Regions from separate parts of the Homo sapiens genome. Here region 2 is linked to region 1. The links are contacts of gene promoters, found by promoter capture Hi-C in human tissues and cell types (Jung and others, 2019). All regions are on one chromosome and are shown on one strand. The core of a region is centred on a gene start or on the middle of the fragment in contact, and the rest is flanking DNA. Distances in the headings are between cores, read along the strand shown.

What was found. Contacts are between HindIII fragments. The study calls those that stand out against the background at their distance.
Region 2: a fragment that was not itself captured here is called in contact with the fragment with the promoter of ZNF534 in region 1 in 1 of the 25 tissues and cell types used here (bladder).

The regions. Positions count from the first base shown.
Region 1 is chr19:52,426,012-52,432,997 of GRCh38, forward strand. ZNF534 (zinc finger protein 534) reads left to right here and starts at 3,137. Exons shown (of 5, transcript NM_001143938.3): 1 at 3,137-3,233; 2 at 5,397-5,478. The coding sequence starts at 5,464. It also overlaps the pseudogene DPPA5P1. The HindIII fragment of the contact is 9,448 bases long and covers 1-6,986 here.
Region 2 is chr19:52,123,458-52,130,443 of GRCh38, forward strand. It overlaps ZNF616 (zinc finger protein 616), which reads right to left. Exons shown (of 4, transcript NM_178523.5): 3 at 466-592. Among named protein-coding and RNA genes, the nearest start is that of ZNF616, 13 kb to the right of the region's middle. The HindIII fragment of the contact is 6,561 bases long and covers 85-6,645 here.

The DNA of each region.
Region 1 (6,986 bases), core at 1,887-4,386:
CGGTGAGGTCTGAAGACTCCAGAGCCTTCAGCACGAGCATGACCTTGCTCACCTGCTCGATGTAAGGGATTTGAGATCAGTCTGGGCCAAACATGGCTTCCAGCAGCTGCATCTGGACCTGGAGCACCTCTGGATCTTTCAGGAAGTTTCACCCATGGTGGGATATTTCTACATCTGGGATTGTTCCCAACTTGTAACCCTCACAACCAAAACTATGCTCCCGCATGAGCCGGGCCTAAGCGTTCATCAGTATTTTTGATTCCCACCAAATGTATGAAGATTACAATTTCTTCACAGCCTTACTTGTGAAGCAGGTTCACTGCACACTGGTTACCAACGTGTTGGAGTTGAGTGAGAGATAGTCCCATGAACACACAGTAAGTTACATGAAGTGAATTTGTTACAGATTGGCAGCAACGACAGCAGATGCCTGGGGTTCATGCATGCTGTTCCCGAAGGCTCAGGAAAACCACCCAGTTCAGATGCAGTCTGCGTGTGTGTTCCTCCCGCATCACAGCTGAGGGAGCCTGAAAGGCGGCCTGGCCCAGGTTTCATGCTCCAGGGATGCATGGCACGTTGGCCTAAAACAATGAAGGGCATCCTGTTCTGAGGGGACTGGAACAGATCCTGTCCTTCTCTGGTAAGGATGGACAGGATCCTGTCCTTCTCTGGTAAGGATGGACAGGATCCTGTCCTTCATCTCAGTATGTTGCTTTTCTAGCACATTTTATATTCATTCTTGGGAACTACAAGTGAGAAGTCAGACGCAACTGGGCCAGTTCAACCCCACTTGAGTGCTGTCTTGCAGTCTCCCCACCAACCCAGTATCCCCTTTAATAAAGCTAGTCAATTTATGTGTGCACTGACCTTCCTGGATCTGGAGGTAGAGGCTTGTCTCAGGAGATTGAAGTAATATCTTGACTGGCAGAATCTCAGCGCGACATCACTGAGGTACAGCCAGTTGCATTTCACTAGGCTCAAGAGGATTGCTGCCTCAAGCAGGATAACCAGGCCTGCCTGGAACAGTGCCATAGTCCGGGATCCCAGTGACCTGGGTGAGAAGTTGCTATTCAGGTCAAAGAAAATTTCTTCAGGTGACCCCACTGTCTCTAGCCAATAGTCCTGCTTGTGGATCTTACGTATTTGTGTTTCAAAACTACCTGAGGTCCTGATGTGGGGTCCTTACCTCCTGTGCACAGTGACTCATGCCTGTAATTTGAGTACTTTGGGAGTGTAGACAGAAGGAAAACTTGAGGCCAGAACTTGGACACCCGGCTGGGCAACAAAGTGAGACTCCATCTCTACAAAGTAATAATAATATATAAAACTAAAAAATTAGCACAGTCCAATGTCACAGGCCTGTACTTCCAGCTACTCGGGAGACTGAGGTAGGAGGTGCCCATGACCCCAGGAAGTCAAGGTTGTAGTGAGCTATGATTGTGCCACTGCACTCCAGCCTGGATGTCACAGGTTGATTCCCTGTCTTTAAAAAAAAAAAAAAAGTCTTAAACTAAATAATTTATACCTATTTTTAAAGTTATTGGCTTTTTTAAAAAGAGTTGGTGACCTGACTTCACACTGACCTTAGTCCTCTATGCCCAAGGTGGTGTCCCTAGGAAAGTTTCTGGAATTGAGCACAGGGTTGACCTCACCCTCTGGAGTGAATGGGGAATGTAAATGAAAAGTATTTCTAGCCGGGCGCGGTGGCTCACGCCTGTAATCCCAGCACTTAGGGAGGCTGAGGCGGGCGGATCATGAGGTCGGGAGATCGAGACTACGGTGAAACCCAGTCTCTACTAAAAATACAAAAAAAATTAGCCAGGCATGGTGGCGGGTGCCTGTAGTACCAGCTACTCGGGAGGCTGAGGCAGGAGAATGGTGTGAACCCGGGAGGCGAAGCTTGCGGTGAGCCGAGATTGTGCCACTGCACTCCAGCCTGGACGACAGAGCAAGACTCCATCTCAAAAAAAAAAAAAAAAGTATTTCTATTCTATGGGGCATTGGCATGATACTGCGCATTCCACTCTGGCAGGGTTTAGCATTTCACACTTTAGCTTCCATCCCCTTCACAGATAGTTCCAAAGTGTCTTAATTCCTAAAATTTGTCTTTCTGGCTGGGCATAGTGGCTCACGCCTGTAATCCCAACACTCTGGGAGGCCGAGGCGGGCAGATCACCTGAGGTCAGAAGTTCAAGACCAGCCTGGCCATGGTGAAACCCCGTCTCTACTAAAAATACAACAAATTAGTCGGGTGTGGTGGTGCGCACCTGTAATCCCAGCTACTCGGGAGGCTGAGGCAGGAGAATCACTTGAACCTGGGAGGCATAGGTTGCAGTGAGCCGAGATCTCATCATTGAGCTTCAGCCTGGGCAACGAGCGAAACTCTCAAACAAACAAACAAACAAAAAAAATGTCTTTCTTTCGTTCTTTCTTGTCTCTCCCTTTTTCTCACACACAGGCACAGACACCTACATTCTTTTCTTTGTTGCACTATTTCTCTCTAGTCTTATTTTCTTTCTTTCTTTTCTTTTTTTTTTTTTTTTTTGAGACGGAGTCTCACTCCATCGCCAGGCTGGAGTGTAGTGGTACGATTTCGGCTCACTGCAACCCTGCCTCCCGGGTTCAAGTGATTCTCCTGCCTCAGCCTCCCGAGTAGCTGGGACTACAGGCGCCCACCACCACACCCAGCTAATTTTTGTGTTTTTAGTAGAGACGGGGGTTTCATCATGTTGGCCAGGATGGTCTCGATCTCCTGACCTCGTGATCCGCCCGGCTTGGCCTCCCAAAGTGCTGGGATTACAGGAGTGAGCCACCGCACCCGGCCTTGTCTTTCTTTTTGCTTTCTTTTCACGCTCTCTTCTCTCTCTGCTTCCAGAGTAGTTGGGACTTAAAATTTATTGTAATAACAGGAATTCTCGTGGATCTAATCTAATCACCAACCGATTTTGCTCTGCCCCAGCAAGATCTGTTTACAGATCTGTTTACAGAAGTGCTGAGCAGATCTCGCCTCCAAAACCCTAAAACAGGATCGCTGAGTCAGACTGACAGAAGCATAGACCCCGCCTTGAGCCCGCCCTGTCCCGGCCCTGCCCTCGGCCCCGGGCCCGGCCTGTACGATGCGCGCGCAATTTCCTGCAGACCCGGAAGTCGAGATCATGGAGTGAACGTTTCGCGCGCTTTTTCCTGTAGACCCGGCACCCGACTGCGCGGAAAGACTGTCTAAGCCGCCACTCGTGAGTTTGCCTTTGTCTAGATTAAATTTAGGCTGCCCAGTTCCTGTGTGCTTCTACACCCGCGATCTGAGGGCTCATGCAGACCTTGAAGTCCCGGCACCGCTCTATCCACTCCAAGTAAATTCAGACATTCTCTAGAGAGTCTGGAGGTCGCTTACCTGCGTGTTAAAACCGCTTGGAGGCTTCTAGGCCGGGCGCGGTGCCTCACGCCTGTAATCCTGGCACTTTGCTATTTTTTTTTCATTTTTTGTAATTATTCAGTCTAGTTGATTGAATCCATTGATGTGTACCCCAGAGATACCAAGGGCTGACTTTAGACTGTATCTGCTCGTTAGTCACTTAATAGTCTTTTTTTTTTTTTTTTTCCTGAGACTGAGTTTTGCTCTTGTTGCCCAGGCTGGAGTGCAATGGCGTGATCTCGGCTCACTGCAAACTCCGCCTCCCGGATTCAAGCGATTCTCCCGCCTGGGCCTCCCGAGTAGCTGGGATTACAGGCATACGCCACCATGCCTCTCTAATTTTGTATTTTTAGTAGAGATGGGGTTTCACCATGTTGGCCAGGCTGGTCTCGAACTCCTGACCTCAGGTGATCTGCCCGCCTCATCCTTTCAAAGTGCTGGGATTACAGGCATGAGCCACCGTACTTGGCCAATAGTCTTTTGGATGAGATCCACTTTTATGGTATCTCAGTGCTTTTTTTTCATGTAACCCTTTTTTTTTTCCCTTAACAATGCCCTCCAGGCACATGAGTATTGATTGATGCTGACAATTTTTTTTTTGGGTTTTTTTGAGACAGAGTCTCACTCTGACGCCAAGGCTGGAGTGCAGTGGCACTGTGTTGGCTGACTGCAACCTCTGTCTCCTGGGTTCAAGCAATTCTCCTGCCTCAGTCTCCCGAGTAGCTGGGATTACAGGTGTCCACCACCACGGCCGGCTAGTTTTTATATTTTTAGTACAGACAGGGTTTGACCATGTTGGCCAGGCTGGTCTTGAACTCCTGACCTCAGGTGATCCACCTGCCTCGGCCTCCCAAAGTGCTGGGATTACAGGCGTGAGCCACTGCGCCCGGCCTTGATGCTGACAATTTGGATATGCCAGTGAGAAGCTGTAACATGGAGTCTTTAAGGGGAATTAATAGGGTTTAGTACTGATGGAGGTTTCAGGCATCCATTGGGGCTCTTGGAACATAGTGCACATCGATAAAAGGATTCTACTATAGTCTATATCTAGAATTGAGCACTGTGATCCACAGAGGGCTGAGGGGCCTGTGCTCTGCATGAGCTTTGGTCAGGGTGAGGTCTGTGCTTTTTTTTTGTTTTTTTTTGAGATAGAGTCGCACTCTGTCACCCAGGCTGGAGTGCAGTGTTAAAATCTTGGCTCACTGCAACCTCTGTCTCCTGGGTTCAAGCAATTCTCCTGCCTCAGCCTCCTAAGAGCTGGGATTATAGGTGCCTGCCATTACCCAGCTAAATTTTGTATTTTTAGGAGAGACGGGGTTTCACCATCTTGGCCAGGCTGATCTTGAACTCCTGACCTCGTGATCGACCTGCCTTGGCCTCTCAAAGTGCTGGGATTACAGGCGTGAACCACCACACATGGCCTTTTTTTTTTCTTTTTCTTTTTTAAGATGGAGTTTCACCCTGTCACCCAGGCTGGAGTGCAATGGTGCGATCTCGGCTCACTGCAACCTCTGCCTCCCAAGTTCAAGGGATTCTCCTGCCTCAGCTTCCTGAGTAGCTGGGATTACAGGCCCGTGTCACCACGCCCAGCTAATTTTTTGTATCCTTAGTAGAGACGAGGGTTTCATTATGTTGGCCAGGCTGGTCTCAAACTCCTGACCTCATGATCTGCCCACCTCGGCCTCCCAAAGTGCTAGGATTATAGGTGGGAGCCACCGCACCCGGCCAAGTCTGTGCTTTTAAGGGGAGCTTAGTCAAGCCCAGCTCTGCACTGCTGCAGTGTGTGTGTCGCTCACCATGAGACAGGAGAGAGTTTTGAGGAAGGGAGTAAAAAACTCACTTGTTGATTTTCCTGTGGGAGATCAACAGTAGGCAGCAGAGGACCATCCTTCCAGAAGGTGAAGTCTTCCCTTTTTGTGTGGCTGTGGCACAGGAAGTGGGTGTGTTGATTCTAAGCCCTAAACAGCATTATTTTTGATACTAGGATTCACTTTCAAAGAGACATATTATGCAAGGAAGCAACTCGGAAGAGGAAAGAAAGGAAGTCAGGAATGGCCCTTACTCAGGTAAGGTAATGTTCTCAGTGGATTGTTCTGTCTCTGTTTCTTCCTGAAATGCCAGGCATTGGAGTTGCTAATCTCTGACTCTGAAGCATCCTGCCTGACTCATTTCATTGCACTTACCCATGGCTTCTTCCAGTCCCTTTCACTTCCACTTAAGATTCCAGTTCCCTATGACCCAATGACATGAACTTGGGAAGAGGTTCCACTGGGCATGGTCCTGGGAAGTGCTCACACCCAGACACGGATGGAGATGGGGTGTGGGCCTTGTGGTGTCAGTGCTGTTGGGCAGCAGGGATTGTTCAGGGGCCACATCTGGATGCACTGTGAGTGTTCTGTGGACTAAGACTAGAGAAGCTGCATGTGGAATTCCTTTTTTTTTTTTTTTGAGACAGAGTCTCGCACTGTTGCCCAGGCTGGAGTGTGGTTTTGTGATCTCGGCCATATAAATGTATATGTGTACTAGTGTATATGAGTGTTAGTATATATATGTGTAAGTGTGTACATGTGATGTGTTTGCATGAGTGCACAGATGAGCAAACCTATAGTTTTTATAAATAGCATGTCATCATTATATATATATATATTTTTATCAGTTGAAATTACATCTATTTATCAGGATGTTCAAATTTTTCTACATTATCATGTATGATGATATGAGGCATCATACCTGATAGTGGCTATAAGAGGCAATGAGGCAATGGCTATAAGAACATTATAGTAATGTATTATGGGGATATCGATTATATATATGCATATATAATGAACTATTAGGCAATTCCATGTTTTTAATCCTTGAAGTTGTTTTAAATTTACTGAATTAGGTAACTGTCAATTTACTTTTGATGCTGATCTGTTACTTAACTGTCTGATTCTTTAGGTTTGATTCTCATGCTCAGACACCTGTGATCTGCTGCTTACTCTGCTGTTTCAGTTCTCACACCTGGGGCAAGCTAGCGTGTATGTGAAAGAGTTGTCTTTTTAGTAAGATAGGAGCAGATTATTCTTTCATTGGCTTTTGTTGCTGTACCAGTTAGTTCATGTAAATCATTGAGAATAGTGCCTATCACATGGGAAGTGTTCTATTCAGCCATTGCTGTTGTTATCATCGCAGTTTTCAGATTTTCACCATTTTTTATTTATTTTATTTATTTATTTATTTTTTTTGAGACAGGGTCTCGCCCTGTCACCCAGGCTGGAGTGCAATGATGCAATCTCGGCTCACTGCAACCTCTGCCTCCTGGCTTCAAGCCATTCTCCTGCCTCAGCCTCCTGAGTAGCTGGGATTACAGGTGCACACCTCCATGCCCAGCTCATTTTTTGTATTTAGTAGAGATGGGGTTTCACCATGTTAGCCAGTCTGGTCTCGAACTCCTTACCTCATGATCCACCTGCCTCGGCCTCCCAAAGTGCTGGGATTACAGGTGTGAGCCACTGCGCCCGGCCCAGATTTTGACCATTTTTAAAAACCACTATAGGTCGGATGTGGTAGCTCATGCCTGTAATCCCAGCAT
Region 2 (6,986 bases), core at 2,115-4,614, 300 kb before region 1:
TGAGTGACATAGTAAAACCCTGTCTCTACACGGGCATGGTGGCACGCACGCATAATTCCAGCTACTTGGGAGGCTGAGGGTGGAGGATTGCTTGAGCCCAGGAGACAGAGATTGCAGTGAGCTGTGATCACACCACTGCACTCCAGCCTGGGCAACAGAGCAAGAACCTGTTTTAAACAAACAAAAAAGCACATGGACAGAAAACAGGGAATTGGATATTTTAACTCTGCCATAAAGTTCTCTGCGAACTTCAGCTCTGGAACCACCACTGATGTACAAAGAAGGCAGCAGAATATATATACAAAGGTGACAGTGAAAGGCCAGATGCAGCATTGTGAAGCTTTTTATTTTTGAACCAATAAGGCTTCAGTCTCAAATAACGGAGGGGTTCCCAAGAAAGACAACAGAGGAAATACAAAAATGCACAAGGGCGAATCTGAACTTCTAGAAGGAAATTATACTCACCTAGGAAGACCAGGTTCCTATAGTTCTCCAACATCACATCCTTGTACAAAGCTTTCTGCACAGGCTCCAGGCATTTCCACTCCTCCTGAGAGAATTCTATGGCTACATCCTTGAATGTCAAATGCCCCTGAAATGAAAAACACATTTCAAAAAGAAGCAATATGAGAGCTCTTCTGTTTACACAAAATGAGGAGAGAACTATCACATCACTTTGAAGTGTGTGTTTTGACATATCTATATGGCATCTGTGAGAAAGTTATTGGTCCCTAATTTTAGTTTGTTATAAAATACAATAGGAGACTATTATATTCTCTACATCAGTGTATAGTTCTATTTTTGTGGACAATACAAGAAATACACAAATAAGAAAAACACATGGTTATCCCTTAAAAAGTGTTAGATATTATGCTCCATACATCAACTGTGTCTAGGTGAGCTAGTATATGAGTGGTGTTTTCAGAGATGACAATGTCTACAGCGGCTTTAAAGGTCAGAAACTAAAAACTGTGATGACCAGAGCAACAGCAATGACTGAAGTTTTGGAACACTCCCCACGTGCTGGGCATTATTCCAAATGCTTTACATGTTCTAATTCAAATAACAACATGATAGCCTATGAGAGAGAGACTTGTTCCATGTTACTGTGTCACAGACACGCTAACAAACTTGCCTAGGTCAACAACCTGAAAATGGCAGAGCAAGCATCTGAACCCAGATGTCTGAGAATTAGAGTTGAATCAAAACAATCAAACAGTTACATTATGGTTACAGAATATCCTAGTCTGTCTGTGCTGCTATAACCAAATAAGACAGACTGGGTAATTTATGAACAATAAAAATATATTTCTCATAATTCTGCAGGCTGGGAAATCCAAGATCAAGGTGCCAGAAGGACTGATGTCTGCTGAGGGATGATCCCTGCTTCCAAGATGGTGTCTTGTTGCATTTTCTGGAGGGGAGGAATGCTGTGTCCCCACGTGGCAGAAGGAACAGAAGGGCCAAAAAGCAGTGAACTCCGTAGGATAAGCGTTTTGATATCTCACTGACCAGAACACCATATCCCATTGATAAGGGCAGACCCCTCAGGATCCAATCACCTACTAAAACCCAAACCTCATAATACTTGGAGATTGGGCATTGGAGATTAAGTTTCAAATGAATTGTGGAGGAGAGAAAAACACTCAGACCACAGCATTCCATCTTGCCCCACCAAAATTCATGTACTCCTCACATATAAAATGCATTCCATCCCAATGGCCCCCCAAAGTCTTAACTTTTTCTACTACCAATTCAAAAGTCTATAGTCTACAGCTGCATCTAACTATAATCTAAATCAGATATGGGTGAGACTCAAAAATGTGTTTCATCCTGAGGCAAACTGCTCTCCAGCTGTGAACGTGTGAAATCAAACGACTTAAGTGCTTCCAACATCCAACGGTGGCGTAGACACAGGCTAAATATTTCAACTCCAAAATGCAGAAACAGGAAAGAAGAGGTAGCCACTCCCATGTTAAGTCTGAAACTCAAATAGGGCACACATATTAAATCTTAAGGCTTGACAATAATCTTCTTTGACTCTATGTCCCACCTTCTAGACATCCTGGAGTAGGAGTTAGGTCCCCAGTGTCCTGGGGATCCCTGCCCCATTAGTTTTGTTGGGATCACCCACATGGAACTTCTCACAGGCTGTGGTTTCCCGAGCTGGGATCACATACTGGTGACTCTACAGTTCTGGGGTCTCAGGCGTGGTCCTGCTTCCAGGGCTCCCCTTGACCTTGCCCTAATAAGCACTCTCTAAGGTGTCCCTGCCTCCATGGCTAGGCTGAGAATTGCCTTAGTGGTGACCTCCTGTGGTAGCACTGAAAGGAACAGGATGAAAGGTTAGGGGCCACTGAGCAAAAAGATAACTGACGTAAACCGGTGTCTGCAATAACACAGAAAGACATGAGGGTGAAGATCTAGTACCACAGATATCTGCAGTACCAGAGTCTATCCACAATAGTACAGAAAATAGGGGAGCTTCTGAGTAGAAAGCAGCAAACCTCTTCAATAGGGAGATGACAAGCAAAGGCCCAGAGAAAAAGCATGGGAAGTCTCCAGAATCTAGGGTAGTTGATTGGAATGTCCTCCCTGAACAAAGCAGCCACCAAATCTGGGCAGGCAGCTGATTTTTTCAAATGCTGAAGTCACAAAAGAAGACAATAAAACATACAAAGAAACAGGGAAATACGGTCTACAAAAAGAAACCAACTGAATCTGTACAAACCTACATGAAAGAAATGGCAATTTACATCTTGGCTTTGAAGAATTAAAAAGAAATGTGGGCCGGGCATGATTGCTCACAACTGTAATCCCAGGACTTTCAGAACGCCAGGCAGGAAGATCACTTCAGAGCAGGAATTCGAGACCAGCCTGGCCAACATTATGAAACCCCATCTCTACTAAAAATACAAAAATTAGCCAGGCATGGTGGCACATGCCTGTAATCTGAGGCTGAGGCATGAGAATTGCTTGAACAGGAGGCAGAGGTTGCAGTGAGCTGAGATCCCACCCCTGCACTCCAGCCTCGGCAATAGAGTGTGACTCTGTCTCCAAAAATAAAGAAAATGCGAAGGTAGGCAGATCACCTGAGGTCAGGAGTTTAAGACCAGCCTGGCCAACACGGTGAAACCCCGTCTCTACTAAAAATACAAAAATTAGCCAGGTGTGGTGGCACGTGCCTGTAGTCCCAGCTACTCAGGGAGACTGAGGCAGGACAATTGCCCGAACCCAGGAGGCAGAGGTTGCAGTGAGTCGAGATCATGCCACTGCACTCCAGCCTGGGCGACAGAGCGAGACTCCATCTCAAAAAATAAATAATAAATAATTAAATAAAATAAAGAAAATGAAGAGAGTCTAATGGGCCCATGAAAAACCATCAAGCACCAAGAACATATGCATTCTGGGAGTCCAACAAATAATGTGAATATATCTAACATTACTGAACTTTACATAAGCAAACAAGCTTTAATGAAAGACATAATAAAGATATTATCAAAGACTGACAAACTCGATTCTTTTTGGAAGACATGGTGACATAAAGGCCTGCAACTGAAAAAATTCAGAGCCATGAAAACACAAACAAAATATGTGGGAATTTTTTTTTTTTTTAGAAGACAGAGTCTCACTGTCACCCAGGCAGGAGTGCAGTGGCACGATCTCAGCTCACTGCAACCTCCACCTCCCAAGTTCAAGGGATTCTCCTGCCTCGGCCTCCCAGGTAGCTAAGATTAAAGACGTGCACCATCATGTCCGGCTAATATTTGTATTTTCAGTAGAGACAGGGTTTCACCATGTTGGCCAGGCTGGTCTTGAACTCCTGACCTCAGGTGATCCACCCACCTTGGCCTCCCAAAGTGCCTGGATTACAGGTGTGAGCCACCACACCCGGCCAATATGTGGAATTTAAATAATATGTGGCTGTGTTGTGTAAAAGGAGAACCATAATAATTTTGGAAAGAAAATGGAGGGGTTTGCCAATCTACTTGTGAACCTATTATGTTATTTATAATCTAAAACTTTATAATCAAATATAATCTACAACAAGATATACAGAAAAATTCAAATTAAAGATTCAAGCAAATAAAATGTAAGCAACAAAATATTAGATCTTAAAAAAACACAGTATTTTATAATCACACAGCGAGCCAGGCCTTCCAAAGAAAGATCAGTTATTTATTTTTGCTTTTGTGGTATAGCGTCCTAACAGAAGCAACCACTCTTTAAACTGTCCAACCTGAAGGAACCCTCAAACACCTGTGGTGAAGAGAGCATTGTGGCAGCCATGGTGAAAAATTATAAAAGATCCATATGTCTTCATTTAGAGATTGTTCCAAAGAGGATGCAAAACAAGCTATTACTGCTTATTAACAAAAAAAGATGTATCTTTGAAAAACTGGCACAATGAAATTTCACAACAGAACATGTACTGAAGAATTGTTTTCTAAAATCTCATAATGACACGTAAATGCATCTTGACACCTCTCACTGACTCTTGCCACAGAACTTACAACTGTAGCTCCCCACGGAAACATGAGGGATGATGGAGAAAGTGACAGGGAAAAGAAACCCGGGTTCCTCCAGGTTGGGTAACTGAAAGAGTGATTGCCTCTTTAGGATGGTGCATTTCCTATTTTCCTGGATCTGGCAAGATTTCCCACTACCCTAAGGTGCAATGGTGTCCTCATACACCAACGACACATATTGGGTGGATTTCCCACCCAATAAAAAAAAAAAAAAAAAACTTACTACTATGTTCTGTTTACATTTTGAGGCTATGGGGAAAATGAAAACCCTTCGTATTTCCATTTTCCAATTCCTTGGACTGTGAGGAGGTTTCATTATTTTGTGGAAATCAAACCAAAATAATTTTCATTCTTTGCTCAGTTTTCCTTTACTGCATTCTAGGAGCCATTTCATATTCTGTAGTTAAATTTTTAAAATATATATGCCTTGATGTCCTTTTCTTAGGTTATAAATTTCTTTCTGTGTAAAACTAAAGCTGGGCACGGTGGCTCATGCCTGTAATCCCAGCATTTTGGGAGGCCAAAGCGGGTGGATCACCTGAGGCCGGAAGTTTGAGACCAGCCTGACCAACATAGAGAAACTCTGTCTCTACTAAAAATACAAAATTAGCCAGGCACGGTGGTGCATGCCTGTGGTCCCAGCTACTCAAGAGGCTTAGGCAGAAGAATCGCTTGAACCTGGGAGGCGGAGGCTGCAGTGAGCCAAGATTGCGCCATTGCACTCCAGCCTGGGCAACAAGACGAAACTCCGTCTCAAAAAAAAAAAAAAAAGCTAAAATGTTTCCTTGATGCCCATTTTTGTTTGCTGATAAATTACATTGTGTATATTTAAGGTATACAACATGGTATTATGGTATGGATAGTAAAAAAAAAAGTCATTAGAGTTTAACAAATTAACACACCCATCATCTCACAGTTACTTTTTTTTTTTTTCCCTCTGTTTTGGCCAGAACAGCTAAAATCTCATTTAGCATGAATTTCATATATAATAAAACATTATTTACAGGCTGGGTGTGGTGGTTCACACTGTAATCCCAGCACTTTGGGAGGCTGAGGCAGGCGGATCATCTGAGATCAGGAGTTCGAGACCAGCCTGGCCAACATGATGAAACCCCCCACCATCTCCACTAAAAATACAAAAATGAGCCAGGCGTGGTGGTGCACGCCTGTAATCCCAGCTATTGGGAGGCTGAGGCAAGAGAAAATCGGTTGAACCCGGGAGACAGAGGTTGCAGTGAGTCGAGATCACGCCATTGTAGTCCGGCCTGGGTGACAAGAGCGAGACTCCGTACAAAACAAAAAGCAAAAAACAAAACAAAATTATTTCCTATCATCCTCGTGTTGTATTAACTTCTTAATGCCTAAACTGCATCTCTGCTTGAAATTTTACCAAAAAAACAAATATATACATCATGTGATGTTTAAAATAAATATAATATTTAATAATAATTGGTGCAGTGAGAGAATTTGGCTCCATCTTCTCTGATAACAAATGTTCAGCTCTTACATCTGAGCAAAATTATAACCTTAAAACTTAAAACAACTGCTGGTAAGAGTCCCCGCAGGAACACCGCAGTCTCTGTGAGATGGATATTCTGACCATGGCTAGAATCTGACATTCAGGTTGATTTCATATTTTTAAATCAATGATGGAATAAAACACGCTCTAATGTCTGTATCTAGTTTTCCATTCAATTCCCTGTCATTAAGGCAGTTAGAAATAGTGACTCATTCATACAGCTTCAAATGTAGTATAAAATCAGGCAGAAAGATCTCCCCTTACACGCCTCCTTTTCCATATTTTTTTTTTTTTTGAGGATGAAGTCTTGCTCTGTCACCCAGGCTGGGGTGCAGTGGCACCATCTTGGCTCACTGCAACCTCCACCTCCGGGTTCAAGCTATTCTCCCGCCTCAGCCTCCTGAGTAGCTGGGATTACAGGCCCCTGCCACCATGACTGGCTAATTTTTGTATTTTCAGTAAAGACGAGGTTTCACCATGTTGGCTCAAACTCCTGAGCTCAAGTGATCCGCCCACCTCAGCCTCCTAAAGTGCTGAGATTACAGGCATGAGACACGGCGCCTGGCCCCTTTCGATAATTTACTAGGTATTTATGCACATTAATATGTGACTTCCACATGCAGCTTCTCTATTCCTGGTCTACAGAAAGCTGACAGTGCATCCAGATGTGGCCCCTAAACAATCCCTGCTGCCCAACAGCTCTGATACCACGGGACCCTCACCCCATCTCCATCCATGTCTGGGTGTGAGCCCTTCCCAGGACCATGCCCAGTGCAGCCTCTTCCCAAGTTCATGTCACTGGATCATGGTGAGATGGAATCTAAATAAGATGAGAGGAACTGAGGAAAAGCATGGATGAGCATGAGCAAATGTGTCAGGAAGGACACTTCAGACTCAGAGAAGATTTGCAACTCCGACGCCCTGTACTTCACAAAGGA